2 separate regions of the Homo sapiens genome follow, and region 1 is linked to region 2. The links are contacts of gene promoters, found by promoter capture Hi-C in blood cells and fetal thymus (Javierre and others, 2016). All regions are on one chromosome and are shown on one strand. Each heading gives the region's core, a stretch centred on a gene start or on the middle of the fragment in contact. The rest is flanking DNA. Distances are from core to core; before and after follow the strand shown. Region 1 holds the start of ZNF487 (zinc finger protein 487). Region 2 holds the start of ZNF33B (zinc finger protein 33B).

Region 1 (2,714 bases), core at 201-2,700, 800 kb after region 2:
ATCCTACCACTTTGGGAGGCCGAGGCCAGTGGATCACCTGAGGTCAAGAGTTCGACACCAGGCCGGGCACGGTGGCTCATGCCTGTAATCCCAGCACTTTGGGAGGCCGAGACGGGCGGATCACGAGGTCAGGAGATCAAGACCAACCTGGCTAACACGGTGAAACCCCGTCTCTACTAAAAATACAAAAAATTAGCCGGGCGTGGTGGCGGGCGCCTGTAGTCCCAGCTACTCGGGAGGCTGAGGCAAGACAATGGCGTGACCCTGGGAGGCGGAGCTTGCAGTGAGCTGAGATCGCGCCACTGCACTCCACCCTGGGTGACAGAGCGAGACTCCGTCTCAAAAAAAAAAAAAAAAAAAAAAAAAAAGAGTTCGACACCAGCCTGGCCAAAATGGTGAAACCCCATCTCTACTAAAAACAAAAAAAATTAACCGGGCGTGGTGGCGGACGACTGTAATCCCAGCTACTCGGGAGCCTGAGGTAGGAGAATCACTTGAACTCGGGAGGCGGAGGTTGCAGTGAGCCAAGATCGCGCCACTGCACTCCAGCCTGGGCAACAAGAGCGAAACTTCGTCTCCAAAAAAAAAAAAAAAAAAAAGGACAACTTTTGATCCCTGAGGCTGCTAATTCCAACTGTGTGCATGTGCTTAACAAATACCTCCGCACCCAGGCCTGGGAAGTTGGCTGATTTGTGTACAGCAAATACGGCAGGCCTGATGTAGCAGAACTCTGACGAAAACGAACTGGACGCGTATTTCTCCTGCAGCGAAGGTCACGCTGCTGACAGCCTCTGCTTTGCACTTTGTCCCTGGGAAGGAGGCCTGTGGCCAGTCCTACCTCCTGGAAAGCCGGGGTGCGTCAGAGGACCTGATGCGGAGCGGGGACCCCATCCTCTCCGTGTCTCCCCAAGAGCCGGCGGCAGAGGCTGCCTGCGCTCCTTAAGCTAGGTCAGTTCTCTGGCCCGCAGTTCTCGTTCTCCTAACATCCTCCGCAGAAAACGACCTTCATTTTTTCCTCTTGCGCCAGTCTTGAAGCGGGGCGTCCTTTGGGCTCACGTTGCGGCGCCCAGCGGCCTCAAGCGTCAGCTGCCTCCAGGGCCTCAGGAGCAGTGGCTAGGGCCTGCCCTCCAGCGCCCGGGGTCCTCGGCCCAGCCCTGCTCCGAGCGCGTCACAATGGCGTCGCGGCCCCGCCCCCGGACGCCCAGCCGCGGTCCCAGCGACCTTCGCTTTCGTGGGGAAGCCGGACTGCGCCGTGTCTTCCTGAAGAAGGCTGGGGTAAGAGTCCGGCCAGCGGACAAGAGGGCAGCTGGTAGCAGGGTGGGATGCCCGTGGCATAGGGCCGAGCCCCCGCTAGGCACGCGGGAGCAGCAAGGCTTCCGGAAGCGCAGGGAGCGCTGGACTGGCGGGCGCCCGGGATTCGCGCAGGCCCCGCCCCTCGGCGGCCCCGCCCAGGGAGCGCTGCGGCAGTTTCCATGGTGAGATGGTCAACAAGCCTGTAAGTTCCTCAGCTACGACTACCAGGTACCTCGGGTTCCTCCCTCCTCCGAGAGACCGCCGAGGTGCGGGCTGTGAGAGGGGGAGCGTGGAGCCTCCGAGGCCGAGGTGAGGGGCGGCCGGCGGGCAGGGGCCGGGTCTGAGGTCGAGGGCCGCACACCCAGGATCGAGCGGGGACTGGGCCCGCTGGGGGTGGGGACCGTGGGGCTGGGATTTGGGATCAGGGCGAGTCGTGGCAGAGAGAACCCGGAGGATCTTTGACCCCAGTGCGGGAGCGGCCAGCCCACCCTAGAGAAGCGAGACAAGGGCAACCAGAAGGAACCGAGTCTGAGGAAGCGCTTCCTCTGGGCAGGGATATTGGGAGAGTCCTGGACGAGTGACCCTGGACCTAGGAGGCATGAGAGGTCTACACACACTTGCAAGGATACCTTCATGATTGTTGAGTTGTGGTGAGAAAAGAGGCTCTTTTTAGTTTATTTTTTAAGGCAGTACATTCACATCCTTAAGAGTCAGAAACTTGCACAAGGCCTTATTACTCAAAACTCCCTTTTCCCAGTTCCTTCTGAGGAAATAGTTGCAAATCTTTGAACTTTTTTCCTCCGGAAATTTTCTTTTTTTCTCTTACATCGGCAGCTCTTCACTGTGTTCTTCCTTCATTAGCTTTACTAAGTTTGTATTCTTTGGTTGGAAATATTTATTTATTTATTTATTTATAAATAGAAACAGGGGTATCACTATGTTGCTCAGGCTGGTCTTGAACTCCTGGGCTCAAGTGATTCTCCTGCTTTAGCTTTCCAAAGTGCGGGGATTACAGGCTGAACCACCGCCTGCCACCGAAATATTTCTTCATTGAGTTCCTTTGCCTCCTAGTGTTACTTTTCTGCTGTGTGTGTAATAGCCATTTGTTTTTTCTTTCTCCTTTCTGGTCATATCCTTAAATACATTTTGCACTAATTCCTTTTGAAACCTCATCATGGAGAGAACTTGAATTTAGCAGATTAGGGGTGAGTGCAGGCTTTTGTCTTAGGTTCCATATATATATATATTTTGAGGTGGAGTCTCCCTCTGTCGCCCAGGCTGGAGTGCAGTGGCGTGATTTTGGCTCACTGAAACCTCCACCTCCTGGCTTCAAGCAATTCTCCTGCCTCAGCCTCCCAAGTGACGAGGGTTACAGGCACGTGCCACCACACCCGGCTAATTTTTGTATTTTTAGTAGAGAC
Region 2 (2,700 bases), core at 149-2,648:
GCTCTTGGGCACAAGATTTTTCATCAGGTGAAAGTAAATATTTGCTTCCTAAGGATTTCAATCTCCCTCAGTCTTCACAAAAAATGTATAATGACAATATTGGCCAAACAAGTTAACAATACATTTAATGAAAAAACATTAACACTAAAACCATTGTAAAGAATAGGACTAGGCTATCGATTTTCCCAGTAATGTTACTTAACCTCTGATGAGTTAGTCCACAGAAAACCATAAGCGTCAGTGCTTCAAAGAAAAAATCCGTTTTAATTTCTTCATCTAACTTTGTTGCTATTTCTCAAAAGGATGTTTTAAACTTGCTTTGATGTGTGTAGAAAAGTAGTACTGGCTTAGGGGTCAGGAGAAGTGACTTTTAGTTCTCCCTACTAACAAACTTTGATCCTGAACAAGTCAGTAACCTTGACAAACAAAAAACAAAAAAATTATTTTTTCTTCTAACAAATGAGGCAAAATTAGGTAATTCTGGTTTTTTGTTTGTTTGTTTGTTTTTGAGACGGAGTTTCGTTCTTGTTGCCCAGTCTGGAGTGCAATGGTGCAATCTCAGCTACCTGCAACCTCCGCCTCCCGGGTTCAAGCATTTCTCTGCCTCAGTAGCTGGGATTACAGTCATAGGCCACCACGCATGGCTACTTTTAGTATTTTTAGTAGAGACGGGGATTTGCCATGTTGGTCAGGCTGGTCTCGAATTCCTGACCTCAGGTGATCCACCCTCCTCGGCCTCCCAAAGTGCAGGATTACAGGAGAGAGCCACCGCGCTAGGCCAAAATTATGTAATTCTTGAAGATCCTTCCTGAGTGCAAGATCAAGTTAGGACAGAGGAACAGCAAATAACAAGATGGGGTGATGGACATGACTGGAGGGCAGTTCGAAACCTAAAGAGGATGAACGCAGAACGGGCAACAGAGTCCGTATGTCGGGCGGGCGACTGCACCCGCCCTTTCCTACCCAGGTAGGGCCGCGCCCTAGCACATGGGCGTAAACACGCTCAACCAGAGAACTGCCCCTCCCGCAAGGCTCAGCGCTCGGACCGCGCAAGCGCACATGCCCTCCTCCGCGGCCCCTACAAACAGGGCAACGCACAGGGCGTAGCCCGCTCCCTACAGAGGCTGCGCCTTAGAGGAACTGGCGTAGCGTCCTGGTAGACATGCTGCAGCCCCGCCGTCCCCGGCTTCTCCGTGAGGTCCCCGGGACTCCTCGCCACCACCTGGCACTGGCCCCCGGCTGCCTGCTCCTGGAGTCGCGCGGGGCCCCCTCTCCGTCCCTGCCCAACCCGCGGAGGCTTACCTCACTCTCTCTTCGGGTTGCATTCGCCATAAGAGAGCCGGTAGACCCCTGAAATCCCGGGACCGCCTCCCACGCAAAACGTGAGACAAACAAAAGGAAAGGCGGAAACGCAGAAACGCAGAGGTAGCCAGTGGATGAGGCATGCGCAGAGCCCACGCTCAAAGCCTGGCGCTGTTGGCGCCCAACCTGGAAACTACCTTTCCCGTGAGGACGCGAGAGCAGCCCTTCGGGATTGGCAGAGAGGTGCCCCGCTAGGCAGTGGACAGATGCGGTCTGAGTTGGTGTGGGAACTGCCCGCAGCCCTGGCTCTCCCGGGGCGACCCAAAGGGATGCACTGCAGGGGAGGTCTGTGTGCAGCAAGTGTGCAGGTTAGACACAGACGCCTCAAGGAAAGGACAGCTGTGTGTCAGTTTCACTTTAAATGTTAGGAAGTAGATCTTATTGATACAGTTTAAAAGACTTTGACACTATCAGCGATTCTTTGAGAGCAGGGATGGGGGGGATGGGGGAGGTGCCACAGGAAAGCTACTTCATCAAAATCGTTAACGCAATAAACGGAAATTGAAAAGTCAGAAAATAGACATAATCCGAAAGAAGAAAATAAATGTCACATGATTTCCCCTGTGACATTAAAATTGCTTGACTAAATGGAAATACATTTAGTCTATCTGTACCTTTCTTAGGAAGACAAAATTCCTAAAAGAATATCAACAAATTTTTTTATGTATTTTTTCTCTTTGATCTTTAGTGTATTGTGTACTTTACAAAAGCATTGTCAACTTTATCCAGAGTAAGTAAAAAACTAAATGAACAGCCATTATACGTTTTAAAAAGCTTGAAAAAATGCCTGAGAAATATCTATATCTATCTATATATATAATATTGCTCTATTCAAAGTAGTTTGGCACCTGCTCCATGGAAATAAGACACCATGATTGAGAGTATTCTTTAATGTGTAGTAAATACAGCATTTCAAAACAGTGAGGGAAAGAATGGAGTATTCCAAAGAGCATGTCATTCCTAACAATTTGGAATATAGAGATATATATAGATCACACGTGATAAAATTCACATGTATACAGTATTGAAACATTTAAACGAGTATAAATTTTTGAAAATTGACATGTGGGCCAGGCACAGTGGCCCACACCTGTAATCCCAGCAGTTTGGGAGGTGGAGGCAGGAGGACCACTTGATCCTTAGAGTCCAAGACCAGCCTGGGCGTTATAGTGGGACCCCTGTCTCTACAAAAAATTAAAAATAACAATTAGCTGGGCATGTAGGCAGGCGCCTGTGATCCCAGCTACTCAGGAGGCTGAGGTTGGACGATCACTTGAGCCCCAGGTTGCAGTAAGCCATCATGGCACCACTGCACTCCAGCCTGGGTGACAAAGTGAG

The links. The method cuts DNA at HindIII sites, captures the fragments that hold promoters and counts their contacts. A CHiCAGO score of 5 or more calls a contact.
Region 1: the fragment with the promoter of ZNF487 here is called in contact with the fragment with the promoter of ZNF33B in region 2 in 3 of 17 cell types (total B cells, total CD8 T cells and fetal thymus); the score reaches 6.1 in total B cells.

Annotation. Positions count from the first base shown.
Region 1 is chr10:43,435,661-43,438,374 of GRCh38, forward strand. It overlaps ZNF487 (zinc finger protein 487), which reads left to right and starts at 1,451. Exons shown (of 4, transcript NM_001355444.3): 1 at 1,451-1,602. RefSeq lists an enhancer at 906-975 and a silencer at 1,076-1,735. The HindIII fragment of the contact is 37,036 bases long and covers 1-2,714 here.
Region 2 is chr10:42,637,172-42,639,871 of GRCh38, forward strand. It overlaps ZNF33B (zinc finger protein 33B), which reads right to left and starts at 1,399. Exons shown (of 5, transcript NM_006955.3): 1 at 1,303-1,399. LOC105378268 (a long non-coding RNA gene) reads left to right here and starts at 1,134. Exons shown (of 2, transcript XR_945898.3): 1 at 1,134-1,382. RefSeq lists enhancers at 161-1,029, 689-958 and a silencer at 1,149-1,318. The HindIII fragment of the contact is 7,213 bases long and covers 1-2,134 here.